2 separate regions of the Homo sapiens genome follow, and region 1 is linked to region 2. The links are contacts of gene promoters, found by promoter capture Hi-C in human tissues and cell types (Jung and others, 2019). All regions are on one chromosome and are shown on one strand. The core of a region is centred on a gene start or on the middle of the fragment in contact, and the rest is flanking DNA. Distances in the headings are between cores, read along the strand shown. Region 1 overlaps SYNJ1 (synaptojanin 1). Region 2 holds the start of EVA1C (eva-1 homolog C).

Region 1 (5,371 bases), core at 665-3,164, 230 kb after region 2:
TTCCTCAGTTCTCACAATCTTAATAATCTTAATTTCTAGGTACAGTAATAGCTCTCAGTTTCCTACTCTTCAGATATGGGCCTCTCAGTAGTCCCAGCTCCTACTGGACTAGCCTAAGTCACTGATTACTGGTTTCTATTTGCTCTTTCTCTCTGTTCTTGATTACCTGTTATAGTCCAGAGAAAGTTTTCAAATAATAAAAAACCTATGTGTATAAGAGAACATATAAACATACAGAAAAGACACATTCATCAGGTAGGGAAAAATCCTGTAACAACATCTACTCTCCTATTTCTAATACCTTTACGGAATATGATGAACCTGATCAAGAAAAAAACCAAAAAGAGAAAAAAACCTTTAGAACCAGTTTTACTATACTGAATTTATCATTTTTTTTTCTGAAATGTAATTAAAATCCTTTTTAATGAAGGATTACTTTATATCTTCATTAATTACTCAGGTAAAATGATAAAAAGCTGCCCAAATCCATCATTTCCTCATATACTGAGACTCTTAAGATATTTATTTAGTGACCATAATTGTTTTAAGTGTATCACTTTTATCCAAATAATGAAGTTTGTTATTTTTGAAGAGTATGTTAAAATAATGTTAGAGTCGGAAGATCATCAAGTGCAATTCCCTCATTTTAGAGATGAGGAAATTGAGGCCTTGAAGGGTCACATGATTTCTCCAAGGTAACAAAACTGACTAGTAGTAAACAGGACTTAGAACCGAGACCCCTTGGCCCCAGGCGAGGTTTTACCTACCGGTCTGGCTGTACTGTATCCAGCAGGTCCTGGGCCTGCAAGTCCTGCTTGAGGTGAAGGCTGACTGCGTCCTGGAACAAAGACATCATATCATATATTTAAGTTTAAAAAAATAAACAAGAAACCATGTACTTATATTCCAAGTGTCTATTTCACGGTCCAGTTTTAAGGGTGAATAGCTACATTCAAGTGTTTTTACCTATATTATCTTTCCTTGTTGTTCCAGGGCTTTTGGGTGCTTTGAAGCAAGAAGGGAAAAAAAAATTAGTTGTAAGTTAACAATTAAGCAATATTGCATAACATCAGCTTGCTGTTCTGCTTCATTACCAGCAGAAATGGGGGCATGAGATGGTAACAAAACAAAGCACTTTGCTTTGTATAATGATGAAGGGTATTATCAGTCCTGAATGAAATACTCCAAAAGAGAGAAAAATTACAATATTTAGATAGACCTTTATGGGAGACAAGTGGTGACTTTAGTTTGATATCTCACTCATGGGACCACTTTTAGGGTGGCATTCCCCATAGAACTCTCTCGTGAACCTTGAAAACATACAGTCAGCTGTGTGAATGGTCACAAGATGCGGCACTGCTGCCCCTTAGAGTCTGGCAGACAAGTGGCTTCTGAGCAACAGACAGGACTGCATTTGTCAAATTACACAAGAGGCTCCTAGTAGCAATACTTTAGGGCTTCACGCTGTAGATGTCACTGTGGATAAGGTTATCTTATGATGAGATCTTTCGGATTTCTATAACAAAATCCCATCATTAAGACAGAAGACAGGCATATGTTATTACCAAATATCTGCCTTATGGAAGACAGTGTTAAAAATATGTTCAAACTCATTAGAAAGGTAGCTGAAGGATAAAATGAAATAAATTACTCTTGGAGCCAAAAGGAGTAGGAGTGACTATCAAGGGCAGCATCTTAAATAAACTCTCCTTTTTGTAAAGAAATTCAAGTACAATTGTTATAAGAAATACATCAGCCTTTTAATAACTAAAATCATAACAAATGGCCTCTAGTCTTAAAGGTCTTTTAAACAAATCTGGCTCAGTGCTAATCTATAAAATAGCTATGTTATCTGAAATCAACTACAAAATACTATATTCTTGGATCTGAATTAATAGGGTTTAATTATAATCATTAATTTTTAAAACTTCAGATTAGTAAAGTACATTTCTAAATATTTTACTTATTCTGAAAAGAATTTTGAAGACATTCTTAAACAGTAATTTCACAACCTGGGCATATATAAACTATATATGAAACAGAGTACAAACAACATTAAGGATCTCAGGGAAATTAAATGGATATCCATTAGAAACTATAGGTGACATAGAATGAAGAGAGGAAAAAATACAAGGTATACATAAGGAGGGGAAAGAGAAGTTTACAGCTGGACCAAGAAAAGATTTAGTATGCCTGCAAACACTGCGGGGTGGGGAGGTGGGGCGCTGACACTGAGAAATAAAATGAGAGAACCACTTCTATAATGCAAGAGTCTTGTTACCTTCCATCTCTCTCCTAGCTACCCCAGGACTGGGAGGGGCTCCAATACCTTTTTAGAGAAAGAACAGAAACTATATATTGTTCAGGGCCCACAGCACAGAATGAAAGGCAGGCACACAAGACAATTTCCATAGTAAACTCACTTTTGCAAAAAGGCTCTTTTATTGCTTTAAATTTCTTCAAAGATATCAATACAAACCAAAGTGACTTTAGATGCTTGGCCCAAATCTGAATCCTCCCTTTACTCAAACAGAAGAGTAGAAACAGGATGACAGTTTTCTTTTTATGTATGCAATTACTACCAGTAGGGAATTTAAAAAATATGTTTAATGAAGACCTTTGCTTTAAAAATCATCTTACTCCTTATATCCAGAGCAAGTAAAAACTCTGATATTTGATAGTCAAAAGGAAAGAAATCATAAATTTCTATGAGACTACGTAAGTCTTTTGAAGTTAGTTTTTGATGCATTAATTTTAAAAACTCTAATGTACTATAATGACGTAAAGGAATTATTGTTTATAGGATGAAAAAACATGTTGCAAACACTACTTACAAAAGAATTATGAAGGGGAGCAATTTTTAAAATTAAGACAGATTTCACTGTAATCCACTGGCTTGCCTAACTTTTGACAGATTCATTTTAAATTTATTTTCTACAGGATGTTTTCCTAATTAAAGCAGAAGATAAGCAAAAATTATCATGGAAATTTAAATAAAAGCAGGAGCTTGAAAAGGGAAAAATTAAATGTTTTCTATAAAAGCAGGAGCTTGAAAAGGGAAAAATTAAATGTTTTCTGTAGGTCAATGGAGAAATGATCACTTAGCTGTATTCGGCAGAAGCTGTAATGCTGAAATAATTTAGCTATTCTTATCACACGCAGTCATTAAGATCTACACACAGGCAAAGTCAGTCTGTAGTAAGACCTGAATTGCTCAGCCATGTCACTAGGCAAGCTACAATAGAAACAGACCAGGCTACACATGCACAGTGAGCCTTAGTAACACTGGATTTGTAAAAGTTCTTCTGAGGAATTGTGAAAACTCATCTCATCTTTTCTTGAGATTTAGATTAAATAAACTTGTCAAATGTATAACTCCAACTGAGCTCTGTGAGTTTTCATGTAAACCAAATAAACTATACTTCAAACAAAAAGTGACCCTTTGTGAATAAAAATTTCCTTATGAAGAAAGGAAAAGAAAATCATACAGTTCTTTGCTAATCCAAAAGCTTTTCCACTAGAAAATAAATGTATCACTAATCAGATACTTGGGAAATGTTCTGTATTTACTGTACCTGAATGACTTTTAAAATTAATATAACTTTTGGGTATTAAATCTTTGTAAATGAATCGACCACATTTATTAAAAAAAAAATTAGGCCTGATGAACAATCCCAGCCTACCTGGGAAATGAAAGCCTTTATTAGTTTTATTTGTGGATTAGTTTTAAACTAGAATGTCATTCATTTTGACTTTTATCAAACAAATCTAAAATGTCTTTCAGGTGTAAAACATTAATGAACCACGATTCACACATGCTAACAAATGTAAATGGTTACCTCCAAATTCCTTTCTAGTGGGTGCAGGACTCCTAGCCCCTTATAGTTCATAAGAAAATAGGCAGCAGAAAGGAAATGACATTAAATACAGAAGTGAAATGTCAAAGATTGCTATAGTATCCATGACATCAAGTATCATGCAGGAATTACATATTATCTACGTACTACAAAAACTATTATTCAATGCATATGCTTATAATTGAAGTAACAGCACTATATTTAATTTAAAAGAACATTAAACAAATACATACAATTGTACATTAATACGTATGCTCTCCAGTTTTATTATACTTTTACAGAAATTAGTACATTTTAATTATTTTATGCTTATAAATCATCCAGAAATGAGGATTTTGAAAAAAATTAAACCTAATTTTACCTAAGAACAGTTTACATGCCTAACTAGATCAAATTAGCAAAAACAAAATAAACCTCTCTGGCTGGCTGGTGAGAAGGCAGCTAAAGGCAGCTGTGAAAACACCTTAGAGGAATCTACTCTGCAAACACTCTACCTTGTCTGTTGCGCCTACCATGTTCTTTAGAGAAAAGCTAAGAAATAGCAATAATGATAGAAAAAACTGTAAAATCCAGAAGCTAGAGATTGGAAAACATGCAAAACATTTTAAAATAGAGTGAAGAATTTTACATCTAGCAGAAATGGAAATAAAAGGTTGTCACCTGAAGGCGGAGGAGGTCTCTGTGGGGGAGCCGGGCGTGTGGGAGGGGCGACCGGGCGGGGCGGCGGCGGCCGCTTGGGCTCCAAGGGCTGGGCGGGGTCTTTCTGCGGCAGCGGCGTTGCTGGCTGCGCGTCAATAGGAGAACCTAAAAAGCGCACAGGAGGTAAGAAGATCAGCTTCTAAGTAGCTGTTGACAGAAGGGAACAGTCCTTCATATATATGTGTAATGTTCTATAAAATGTGCACAATGGTGTAAAGAAAGGGCATGTATTTTCAGTATGAATAACAAAAGCAGTCTACTATTAAACTGCCCTTTGGTACCATGGCAGCAATAATGCTACCTCTGTGCTGACTTCTTACCTAGGCCTCAGGTGCTGAAAGCTAATTTACTAAGTGGCCCTATTGATATGCACAAAGTATTGTTTGAGTTAAGCCATTTTGTAGTCTGGCCAGTAGAGAGAAGAAAAAGCTCAAATAGTTAACGGGTTCATACCATAGAAAATCATCAGTTATAAGACATAGACAAACCTAACCACATAGAAAAAAGATTAAGAACAATTGTCATCTAGTGACAGTTATAGCAAGTTTCCTTTCCATTGAGAGCTTATCATCTACAAGTTTTCCTATTCTGTACCGGAGAAAACAGGGTGCACTTTATCACCTAGGTATGAAACTTAAACGATGACTCTCCAACATCAAGCACATTGGCCACAGGAAGCCATACAAAACTTTCAAATAAAATGCATACTCTGTGCACTGGGAGGCCCAGGAGTTCTTGACGGTGCTCGGCTTGGTCTGATGGGAAGGGAAGGTACAGGACCCTCTGATATTGTAGGTGACTGGCAGGGACTAGTT
Region 2 (5,078 bases), core at 608-3,107:
CTGCTGTAATAGTAACTGTATGCATTCATCCACTGGAGTTGCTTCCATCTTTTGGCCATCATAAATAATGCTGCAATGAATATTGGTGTGTAAGTATGTTTGAGTTTCTGCTTTACCAGGTAAGAAAGCCTGGGGATGCTGTCACAGTGAGTAACAGTGCCCACTTAGACATTTGGAAGCCAGTGCAGACCCACAGGGCAGTGCTGCCCACTCCCAGGACTCGGGAGCATGGCTGCCTCCCTGTGCCAACACTGTCAGTCACTAGCGCAGAACCTGGCACACGTTGGTACCAATTCATATCTAAACTGGATGAATGAACAGACAGAATGGAAAGTACAGGAGGGACCCGAGTTTTGGACAAACATTACTTACCCTGTGGCTCCTAAGTGCTGGGCATCCTTACCCACACTCCCAGCTTCAGTTTCCCTAACCTAGAGAGCGCACACTAATATTTATGTTCAAATGTTATTGGGGAGGTTGAGTTTTTATTTAATATTTGAATGTAGATTTTAAAAATCATTATGCCAGACAGGCTGGGCCTCACTCGATAAACACTGATGTTTAGCATTTAACACACTTTTCCCCAGACTGGAAGAAGAGGCCGAGATCCCAATTCGGTGACCCAGCCCTTGCTGGAGTACTAGGTGGTATCTAATGCCATCCACCCTTCCGGGATCTTTACGGCCCACCTCTGAGTGGGTCCCACGGGGACCCTCAGCCGCATTTTCTTTCTGCAGGCCTCCCTGCACACTCTGGGGCGTTCGCAGCTCTGGAGCCCGCGGGGCAGTGCGTCCGGCCCCGCCCTGGGCCTCATTATCTACGTTTCCGCGTCACGCCCGCCGCGAACTTGGCAGGCCCTCCCGCCGGGTTCGGGAACACTGTGTGCCTAGCGCCCGCCCTCCTCCCTTCCGCCGGCCCCGCGCGATCCATAGGGTTTGGGTCGCTGGGCGCCAGGTACCCGCACCCGGCAAGCAGCCACGGAGCCCCTCGCGCACTTGTCCTCGATACCCTTGAGTTGGGGCTACGCAGGCCACTCCTAGGCCACTGGCTGGGCGTCCGAACGTGGGTCACCCCGCGCACAGTCTAGAGGTTCAGAAAGATGCTGTGGCCCACTTTAAAACAAAGCCCAATTATTAGCGCTCGGCGGCTGTTTGCGCCGGTGCAGTGTCAGATCCCCCAGCGCTGCGGACAACCAGCACCCAAAGGAAGCCGAGCTGGAGCTAAAGATCCCGGCTCCGGAGCCATCTGACCGGTTTTGAGACCTCCAGCTCGTCGCCGTCCTGGCTGCGAGAGCTTGGGCACGGCGCCGGGGCTCAGTCTCCTCTTCTGTGGAATGGCGATAACTGTATGTGCCGGGTGACTGCACGTGGCGCGCGGCGGGTGGCGGGGATGGCAGCGGTGCGATCCCACGCCTCCAGGACCCCACCTTCCTGCGGCCCCCGATCGGCCCCGCCCCGGGGGCGCCCCAGCTGCACGCGCGGCGCTGGCTCCAAAGTGCGTCACGGGCACCGGCCGCGCTCCTTCTGCCGCCAGGGCGAGGCTGGCACCCGGCCAGCGCGGGCAGGGCCACGGGTGCCCGGCTGTTTCCCGGGTGTGGAAGGCGCTCAAGGTGCGCGGCCCGGGGCGCGCTACTGGGGGCGCCCTCCGCGGTGGGCAGCGCGCCAGGGATCGGCCTGGGCAGCCGCGGGGCGCGCGAAGGCTGCGCTTTCCCTACGGCCCCCCTCGCTTCCTCCGGCACGGCGGCAACGGAGATTTCCTCTCGGGGAAACTACGCGGATCCTTTTCGGGGATCCTCGCCCCGCCCCAGTTCTCCGCCCCCTCCCCTTTGCTGGGGCGCCTGGGCTGGCCCGCGCAGGGGAGGAGGCTCTGGCAGCCTGGGCAGGGAGGCGGCGGGGGGCCGCGGAGCCGCTGGCCATCGATTCTCCCCGCCATGTGACGCCGTCCTTAGCCCTGCGACCCCCAGCGCGTCCCGGGCCTGCGCCTCCGCCCCGCCGCGCAGCGCACGATGCTTCTGCCGGGACGCGCACGCCAACCGCCGACGCCCCAGCCCGTGCAGCATCCCGGCCTCCGCCGGCAGGTAGAGCCGCCGGGGCAGCTCCTGCGCCTCTTCTACTGCACTGTCCTGGTCTGCTCCAAAGAGATCTCAGCGCTCACCGACTTCTCTGGTAAGAGCGCCCTCCCTGGCTGTGTGCCCCCGGCACCGCGGAGCGCCCAGGTGAACCCTCGACTGGGGGCAGCCGCACCAGTGGACACGGCGGGGTAGGATTAAAGTTGAGGCGTGCTCACAGACACTTGTCTGGTGTGAGCCCTTGGCATATAGATGGCTGCGAGTGAAGTGGCGACGGGGGACTGCCACTCCCAAGAAGGAAGGGTGTGTAATGTATTCAGAGTTTCTCGCCCTGCTGTTGACCTCGTCAATTTCCTAGCATTAGGGACCTGGTCCTGAGCCACGCTCGTTCTATGGAGGCTCCTTAAACTGAGCCCTGTGCCGCGCCCAGCGCTGTAAAATACACGTGTTGTGGTCGGAGGCGTTGCGCCGCGTTTGTCACCCGCGTAGCCCGTTTGCCCATGTAAGGAGACTAGCCCAGGGGACACTTGACCTCGAGTCCACATTGGCAGGTAGAAAGGGAAGCCCGCGGGGACTGGAGGTCTGGTGGAAAGGCAGTGAGGGATGAGGAGATACTTAGATAAGAGAGAGGAGCCTCTCTGCCAAAGTGTACCAGGGTCCTCCCTCTCCAATTCCAGTTTCCTTCACAGAAAATAATGACTTCCTACTCTCGAATAAACTAGGAGGCTTTTCTTTTTGGGAATCGTGATCCAGGCTCTCGCAGCGGATCTCAGATAGTTCTGAGCTTACAGGTGTGACGCCCCAAAGTGAAAGGGATTTCTAGGTTGACGATAGCCATAGGAGCACATGCTTAAGTTAGCGCTGCAGTTGCTTAAGGTAACACATGTCCTTGCCGCTGAAGCACACCTGGATCTCCCTCTGGCAAGGCTGGAGGCCTTCAGCCTTCCCCAGCCCAGCTTAGGGAGCAGCTCTGAGCCCCATACTCCTCCTTCTCCAGGGATCTTCTGCCAAGTTCAGGCTTTGCACAGTCGGTCCCTATCGGGTCCTCAGTGCAGAGTCTTTTGCAACATAATGGTGGTAAAGGGAGTCCTCCTCAGTCCTGTTTGTGCAGTAGGCTAGTACATAGCAAAGAACAAGGGCAAACCAGAAGTTGAGATGGGGTTCTAGTTTACTTACAGAGAATGTCATTGTTAGTGGAGAGCCCTTAGGTCAGAGGTTCTTTGCTTTGAATATGTAATATCAAGGCAGTATTCCTACCTAGCAAAGGAAGCCAAGATAAGGCCTATTTGGCAAGCCACCCACGGCCCTTAAAATCAAGCATCCCAGGATCAGAACTCTGTGGTAAGAGTTGTGGGGAAATGCATCAGACTTTTCAAGGGCTATTAACTTTTTTTTTTGTACTACTAGAACTTTCTTGGCTGCTAGAAAAGCTCTGTATTAGCTGATTTGAGCTATGGAAAGCAGTTCTGAGTTCAGCCACCATCTAGCTCTGAATTCTAAGGAAATAATTGAAAACTGACAAGCCTTTTTGTGTTTGTGACATCATTGCAACTGAACAAATATTGCTTTAGGCAAATTGCAGTGTAACCATTAGATTGTTTTCACAGATTATAGACACTTAGAGTTCTGTTGCTTTAGGGAAGCAGTTGCAATACTTGTAACAGTCTATAGATTACCACCCAAGTTTGGAATTGTCTGTATCTAGCAACTGTTACATACAGTGGAGTTGAGCTATCAACTCCTTAGTAAAATGAATGATTTGATACATGTTATTCTAAATAGTATAAATGATAAAAGGCATTTTCTTCTGCTTTCCATACGAACCTAAATTCCAGGGTTTCAAACTCCCTGAGCCAGCAGTAGGTGGTGATATTGCCACCCACAACGAGCCCCCATTTTTCCTCTCATCAGTGATGCTCTCCAGAGATCTGAAGATTAGGCAGAACATGTCAGAAGCCTTTTGGGGAGAAGAAAGGAAATATAATGTCCTCCCAAACCACTGATGCACTTAAATTTAAACCTTAATTCTATATCATGTGAGGTCAGGGAAATATTAGAAAAATCTCAGGGAGAAAGAAAGATCATCTTCCAAAGTTGGCTCATTTGACTTGGATTTTAGCCGCCCTCCCTCTGCAAATTCCTAAGCTCCAAAGATGACCATCTTATTGTTCGGTTCAGTGTTTCAGCTGACGCGAACCCCATGTGGCCTCAAAGCTTGCCGCCTGTGTTCCTGGGACAGTCGGTCCTGTTCCTTTTTATGAACTTGAAGGAGTGCATAGAAACCAAAACTGAGGCCTGGAAGGAGACAGTGGATCCTCCCCTGCAGAGCCTGATCACAATAACCAGGGCTAGAGAGCAGTGTTTGACAATGCAGATACTTGCCTGTTTTTCTAAATAAAGGGAACATCAAAAACTAGCAGAGGATAGAGGAAACTTGGGATCCCTCTGCCCTGTGAAGGAGGAGGGAGGATGGTGTATCCATGTGAAAGAAAGTGCCAGAATGTCAGGGGTCCCAGCCATTGTCTGTACAATATAGGCCCCTTTCTCCCCCCAGGAGATTAGCAGTGCAGAGTTTTGGAAAGTTCCTTAAGCCTTTCTCTTCTTTGCGGCTCTTCCTTGAGCCTTTTCCTGGGGCTGTCAGCTGGTGTCGTTTTCCTGGGTCATTGATTTTTTTTTGCCCTCAGGGATTCCAGCATCGATCTCACTCTTAATAAGCCAGAGGCAGCATCATGGCCCCCTCCTCCTCCCTGTCCATGCTCGTGACTTGTTCTAATCACCTCCAAGCTTGCTAGTAAACAGGCTCCCCAAACACCGCCTTCTCTCTCATCTCCAAAGATTTTGAGATGTCGCCAGCGGCCACTGGAAGGCTATCATCACTGCATTAAAAATGAATCCCAGCGAAGGCAAGAGAAGTTCATGCAAAATTAGTGCCTCTGATCCTTAATCTCATACTCAAATGTGCTTGGCTTTCATCCACTTTCCTCTTTGGGATAGAGTTCTCTTCATTTGA

What was found. The method cuts DNA at HindIII sites, captures the fragments that hold promoters and counts their contacts. A contact is called where the count stands out against the background at its distance.
Region 1: a contact is called between a fragment that was not itself captured here and the fragment with the promoter of EVA1C in region 2, in 3 of the 25 tissues and cell types used here (aorta, dorsolateral prefrontal cortex and thymus).

What each region holds. Positions count from the first base shown.
Region 1 is chr21:32,641,129-32,646,499 of GRCh38, forward strand. SYNJ1 (synaptojanin 1) reads right to left here. Exons shown (of 33, transcript NM_203446.3): 24 at 5,265-5,371; 25 at 4,518-4,661; 26 at 3,840-3,878; 27 at 2,282-2,329; 28 at 967-1,005; 29 at 768-838. Among named protein-coding and RNA genes, the nearest start is that of CFAP298-TCP10L, 31 kb to the left of the region's middle. The HindIII fragment of the contact is 6,056 bases long and covers 1-4,942 here.
Region 2 is chr21:32,410,849-32,415,926 of GRCh38, forward strand. It overlaps EVA1C (eva-1 homolog C), which reads left to right and starts at 1,858. Exons shown (of 8, transcript NM_058187.5): 1 at 1,858-2,165. The coding sequence starts at 2,006. The HindIII fragment of the contact is 9,144 bases long and covers 1-4,567 here.